Linked DNA regions of Homo sapiens: region 1 is linked to region 2. Evidence: promoter capture Hi-C in 16 types of primary human blood cells and fetal thymus (Javierre and others, 2016). All regions are on one chromosome and are shown on one strand. Each heading gives the region's core, a stretch centred on a gene start or on the middle of the fragment in contact. The rest is flanking DNA. Distances are from core to core; before and after follow the strand shown.

Region 1 (3,317 bases), core at 557-3,056, 64 kb before region 2:
TAATTTCTCAGTAGGTCACACTGTTACACATTCATCTAATAACAATTATTCTTTTTCTTTTTTTTTTTTTTTTTTGGAGATAGGGTCTCACTGTCACCCAGGCTGGACAGGCTGGAGTGCAATGGCACAATCTCGGCTCACTGCAACTTTGACCTCCTAGGCTCAAGTGATCCTCCTGCCTCAGCCTCCCAAGTTGCTGGGACTACAGGTGAGTACCACCAGACGCAGCCAATTTTTGTATTTTTTTGTAGAGATGGGGCTTCACCATGTTGCCCAGGCTGGTCTCACACTCCTGAGAGTTCCCAGTCAAGTGATCCACCCACCTTGGCCTCCCAAAGTGCTGGGATTACAGGTATGAGCCACCATACCCAGTGAATTATTCTCGTTCCAGATAGGAAAACCAAGTCATAGGGAGGTTAGAGAATTTGCCAAAGACAAAACTTTTTGGTTGAAAAAAAATAAGTTTTGCTACAAGTATAGAAAACACCAAATAACGGTGTTTTAAATAAAATAGAAGTGTTTCACCCTCTCCCTCAAGTAAGTGTTGGCATCCAAGATGATATGACAACTCCACAATCATGAAACTAGATCCCTTTTTATTTTTTGGCTCAGTCATTGTCAATGGGCTGCTTCCAGTCATTGTCCAAAGTGGCTGCTTGCGCTCCAGCCACTGTATCTGCATTCGGGAAAGCAGGATGGAGGAAAGGACAAAGTAGGCCATGCCCTCTACTTTAAGATAACTCCTTAAATTGCTGATGTGGTGGGTCACTCCTGCAATACCAGCCACTCAGGAGGCTGAAGCAGGAGGTTCACTTGAACCCAGGAGCTTGAGGCTGCAGTGAACTATAATTGTGTCACTGCATTCCAGCCTGAGTGACAGAGTGAGATCTTGTCTCTTAACAACAACAAAAAAGGTAATTCTTTAAATTGTACACTTTATTGCTGCTTATATTCCACTAGAAGCTAGAAGTTAGTCACATGGTCTTAAGTCTTTATTCTAACAGGTGATGTGCCCGAGTGAATCCTGGGGGCCCAGTGCTAAGAAGTAGAGGGAGATGAAGCCCTGCCCTCCTGTGGAGCAACCAGGACCTTAATTCAGTCATTCATTCCTTGGACCTACCCAGATTCCAGCCTCAGGCCCCTGCCCACCTCCTTGCCAGTATCTCTGCAGAGCCTCCTGCCTCCCCCAGAGGGTGCCAGAGCCCTCTGCTTCCTCAGCCTTCAGACCCACTTGCTGTGTCTCAGGTGGGGACAACTCAGTCTATAGAGGCCCAAGGGAGATCTTTGAGACCCATACTGTAGTCAGCTTGGGGCAGATGGGAGTCATGTAGCTCACTGGCTAAAAGCCTAGGTCCTGCATAGAGCTGGGTTCAAATCCAGGCATATCCATCACCTGCTCTACGATCCCAGGAGTCACTCAATGACTCAGAAGCTAGAGTCCTCTGGAAAGCTTGTATGAAGAGTTCCCAGGGCCTGGAACATCAAAAGAGCTCTGAGAATGTTGGCTCTGCTGTTGCTTCTCTTATTGGGTATCTGAAGGCCGTACTCTCCTCTCTCCTCCACCCGAGGTGACCTCTACTCTCATAGCCACACCCTGGACCCTCACTCATTCAGTCACCTCACCCAGTCTGTCATCTGTCCCTCTGGCTCTCCTCTCCTGTTCATGCATCTTGTACTCACCCACTTCTGTCCCTGAGTGTTTCAAGGCTCTGGGGTTTTCAGAGACACTGAAGGGACCTCCCTCCTCAACACAACCACAAGGTCTAGGTGGAATGACCCACTAAGGGACCGGCTCTGAAGCCAGAGACTTCCAGGGAAAGTCAACAAGCCCAAGGATGCCCGTTACAAGAAAGTTAAAAGACCCATGTACATGTCCTCCCGTTTTATTCCCTGCTCAGGGTCTGGGCATACAGTGGAACACATGCAGTCCCCAAAGGACACCGTCTGTACAGAGTCAGATGGAGTTAAGAACATTTAGCCGGCTGGGCGCGGTGGCTCACGCCTGTAGTCCCAGCTACTCGGGAGGCTGAGGCAGGAGAATGGCGTGAACCCGGGAGGCGGAGCTTGCAGTGAGCCGAGATCGCGCCGCTGCACTCCAGCCTGGGCCACAGAGACAGACTCTGTCTCAAAAAAAAAAAAAAAGAATATTTAGTCTGGGCACGGAAGCTTATGCCTGTAATCCCAGCACTTTGGGAGGCTGAGGTGGGCGGATAACCTGAGGTCAGAAGTTTGAGACCAGCCTGGCCAACATGGTGAAACCCCATCTCTACTAAAAATACAAAAATTAGCCAGGCATCTGTAATCCCAGCTACTCAGGAGGCTGAGGCAGGAAAATCACTTGAACCCAGGAGGTGGCGGTCACAGTGAGCCAAGATTGTGCCAGTGCACTCCAGCCTGGGTGACAGAGCAAGACTCCATCTAAACACACACACGCACACGCACACATATTTAAACCACCACACCAACATCTAGTTCAAGATGGTGGACTGAGAACTTGTCTCTGCCATTCCTGGCCCATCCAATACCACTGAGAGCACAGTAAGCAAAGGGAAAAGGAGACAGAAGGGCTGGGAACAGGATGGCTGGGGGATGGGAAGTATCCACTGCACAGGATTTTGATTTAATTCTAGAAGATAGAAAGAGGGAGGATCACGTTCAGGAACAGATGCGGGTAAAGGAAACCAGAGCCAAAGCACGCTGAGAGAAAGCTGCCCCAGAGGCCGGAGCAGAAGTGGACTCTCTACAGGGACTCAATACACCCCAAAGGGTTGGTAGCTGGCACACGTACCTCTCCACCCCCACATGTAACACTGCAGGGCAGAGGAAATACCCTAGGTGAGTTCCAGTATCAATCAACCTGCCCTTTGTTCATAAAGATGAATTGGTTACCAGGTATTACCAGACAGGTGAGGAAGACCAACACAAAGAGAAAGATCCAGAAACAAACAGGCCAGGCGCATTGGCTCACGCCTGTAATCCCAGCACTCTGGGAGGCCAAGATGGGTGGATCACCTGAGGTCAGGAGTTCAAGACCAGCCTTGCCAACATGGTGAAACCCTGTCTCTACTAAAAATACAAAAATTAGCTGGGTGTGGTGGGGTTCTCCTGCCTCAGCCTCCCGAGTAGCTGGGAGGCTGAAGTAGGAGGTTCACTTGAACCCAGGAGCTCGAGGCTGCATTGAACTATGATTATGTCACTACATTCCAGCCTGAGTGACAGAGTGAGATCTTGTCTCTTAACAACAACAAAAAAGGTAATTCTTTAAATTGCACACTACATTGCTGCTTATATTCCACTGGCTAGAGGTTAGTCACATG
Region 2 (3,532 bases), core at 341-2,840:
AGGCATGGCAGAGTGGTGGAACCCAATGGAGGGGTGGAGATGCGGAAAGGGGAAGGATAAGGAGGGAGACAAAGACATTAAGATTAGTGATAGGTAGAGGAGACTAAGTCTCCAGCATACCTCAGAGGAGCTGCATCCCTTCCCCACTAATTTAGGAATGGGAATACTGAGTCTCTGGTCCTCCAGTAGAGAATGAGTCAGCCAGTGCAGGGGCTCACACCTGTAATCCCAACACTTTGGGAGGCTGAGGCGGGTAGATCACCTGAGGCCAGGAGTTCGAGACCAGCCTGGCCAACATGGTGAAACCCCATCTCTACTAAAAATACAAAAGTTAGCCAGGTGTGGTGGTGCATGTAAACCCAGCTACTTGGGTGGCTGAGGCAGAAGAATCGCTTGAACTCAGGAGGTGGAGGTTGCAGTGAGCTGAGATCATGCCACTGCACTCCAGCCTGGGCGACAAGAGTGAGACTCTGTCTCAAAAAAAAAAAAAAAAAAAAAAGAGAATGAGTCTCCAAGAGAAGCTTTCAGGAGCCCAGGGAATTCACATGGATGCATGATGCACACACACACACACACACACACACACACACACACTCCAACACCAAAGTTCCAGGAGAGTAAAAGACTCACGTAAGCAGAGACACATGTGATAAGATCCCCCTACACATAGATACATAGGGCAGAATGTGTAGACACATAGAACAAACACATGCTAGACACACATAGGCACACATGTAGAACACACATAGACAGAAGCACAAAAAGCCACATATGCACACAGCCTCCCCAAATATACAGATACAGAGATGCATAGAAGTACTTGACATGAAAAGATGACAGATAAGTATTTCTGTCATTGAGATCCCAGGAGACATTCCTAGAAACACAAACACCTTCACAATCACAAAGAAACACATGCACACAAGACCCCCCCAAATACAAGACTAAACATGTCAACACATATGAACACACACATGCTCAGACTCCCAGAAGACATAGAACACATAGCAATGAGTGAGCACATACAGAAATGCATAAATACATATGCAGACACATATCTTAATCATTAATGTCCCTGGAGGGAGTTAGAGGCACCCCCCCCAACATGCACACAGGATAGAACATGTAGACATACATATATGGACACACATCGTTCACACACAGATGCAAATAGAAAACAAGCACACACATCTAAAATTTGAAGTCCCAGGAGGCAGATTCCTCCCCACTCCCACAAGCACACAAACACAAAGAGTTTGCACAGAGACCCGTTACACACGAACATACAGGACAGAACATGCAGACACACAAGGGCACACACCTCCATCGCTAAAGTCCCGGGAGAGGTTTCGCTTGGGCCGGGACAGAGGGATGTTGTCTACCCACAGGTACAGCTGGTGCAGCGCCTCCTCGTCCACGCTGCTCGCCATTGGCGTCCTCACGGCCTGGCCGCCCCAGCGGTGCCGGGTCCCGCCCCAGCCTCACGACCCTTCAGGCGCTTCCTTTCTCGCCACTGCAGAAGCCCATAACTGCCTCTGCCTGCCTAATCCAGAGACTCACGTCCCAGCTGGGAGCGGCCATATTGTTTTCTGAAACCATGGAAACCATTCCCGACTCTCCTGGGTACAAAGACTTCTGGGAGTTGTAGTTTTATCCCCTCCCCGCTACCTCCTCTCAGGCCCGAGCTTTGAAAAGGCGGTTAGCTGCCCTTGTCTTCTTCCCAAGAAAGCATCACTTCTGTGCCCACGCCACCTAGTGACCAGCCACTCATCCATTTTGGGACCAGCCAAAGCCAACCAGGACCCCAGAATTCCTGCATCTGCACCCCTAGGGTGGGGATCCCCCTTCTTGGCCCTTCAGCCCTTTAGTCCCAAGTGAAGGGAGCACTCCAGTGTTGGTCAGCTTTATTTGGGGGTGCGTTGTTGATAATCTGCCACCCAAATGGATTGCGTGATACAACTGCTTCCTGCTTCGTCCCTCTCCAAAAACTCTATGCTCATGGGGCCATTGCCACTCGCCCTTCCCAGCAGTGTTCTAGTGGGGTATTTAATAGGTAACCCAGACTCCCAGGGAGAACACCAGAGTTCAAGGCCAGTACCTTGGCAGGTCATTTAACTTCTTAACTCTATTTCCTCCTTTGTGAAATGACGATGGTTCTCACTTATTTGTCCCAAACCCCTCATCACCCGTCAATGAGCTATTCTTCCATGGATTAGAAATTCATTTCAGGCAGGGCACAGTGGCTCATGCCTGTAATCCCAGCACTTTGGGAGGCCGAGGCGGGCAGATCACCTGAGGTCAGGAGTTCGAGACCAGCCTGGCCAACATGGCTTTCGCCCCGTCTCTACTGAAAATACAAAAAAAAGTTAGCCATGTGTGGTGGTGGATGCCTGTAATCCCAGCCACTGAGGAGGCTGAGGCAAGAGAATCGCTTGAACCCGGGAGTCAAAGGTTGGTGAGCCAAGATCATGCTATTGCACTCCAGCCTAGGCGACAGAGCGGGACTCCATCTCAAAAAAAAAAAAAAAAGAAAGAAAAGAAAAGAAAGAAACAAATTCATTGCAGTACCCATAAGGGGGTTAGGAATATGGGTCCCTCCTTAGTGAAGAGGTACTTCTAGAGTCAGGATGAGAAGAGAGTTTGACTAACGGCATGGCCTTGGGCACCTGACCGGACCGCTGCCTGGTTTCTCATGGCTTTACCTACCTTATAGGGGCTTTGTGAGCATCTAAAGCATTTAGCACAGAGCAGGGGCCCTATTAGTATCAGCTGGTACTATCATTAATGAGACAGTCTCAGTTCCAGCAAGAACTGTTCTTTTTCGCAGGAGACAAATGGAAGTAATTCGTCTTGTTGGAACCTGCGGTGAGGTAGCTGGGTTAAACAGGAGCACCTGGGCAAGCAGGCAATGCTCCTCCTGCTCACTCGAGAGCAGGTGGGGCTTCCTTGTGGCCTTCTGGTCTCCAACTCCAGGGCTCGGATTTCGGGAGGGAAGGTGGTGGCAAGGGGGATCCCAACTACTTTTTGTTGTCACTTCAAAGCCCTCAAGGCCTGGAGGGGATTCCTGAATGCCAGAAGTAGAGGCCAAGAGTGGAAGTCACCCCCATTTCTTGTTTTAAAGTCATATATAGTGGTCTTGATTTTCCATAAGGGGCCATAACCAGGGCAGGCCAGGGACAAGAGATGAACTGGATACTCCCCCATTAACATTCCCAGTGTTGGAGAGGAGAAACTTGGTGGTAAAGGTGGGCCGGGGATGGGAAGGAAACACAGAAGTGATGTGCCAGCCTCAGGTGAGGTGGGAAAACCGGTTTGGGGCCCAGAGCTGCCAGCCATGCTCAAGCCCAGGCCCTCCCTTGGTTGGAACTGCTGGGGCCTGAGGGCCTCAGTGAGGAGGGGTAGGGAGGGAGGGGCTGGCTCTGAAAGGAAAAAGGGTAGGATCAGCAAAGGGACCTGACCTCACCTTTGTACTGGGGGCCCCCTGGAAGGCACTGCACAGGGAGTTACCAACCATCCTCTGCCTCTTGGGGGT

The links. Contacts are between HindIII fragments. The CHiCAGO score rates a contact against its expected background, and 5 or more counts as called.
Region 1: a fragment that was not itself captured here is called in contact with the fragment with the promoter of SPEF1 in region 2 in 1 of 17 cell types (endothelial precursors); the score reaches 8.5 in endothelial precursors.

Annotation. Positions count from the first base shown.
Region 1 is chr20:3,715,226-3,718,542 of GRCh38, forward strand. No RefSeq gene overlaps it. Among named protein-coding and RNA genes, the nearest start is that of SIGLEC1, 4.3 kb to the left of the region's middle. RefSeq lists a silencer at 1,246-1,305 and an enhancer at 1,661-1,830. The HindIII fragment of the contact is 716 bases long and covers 1,449-2,164 here.
Region 2 is chr20:3,779,858-3,783,389 of GRCh38, forward strand. SPEF1 (sperm flagellar 1) reads right to left here and starts at 1,591. Exons shown (of 7, transcript NM_015417.5): 1 at 1,322-1,591. The coding sequence starts at 1,430. RefSeq lists enhancers at 1,485-1,779, 1,741-1,890. The HindIII fragment of the contact is 3,327 bases long and covers 520-3,532 here.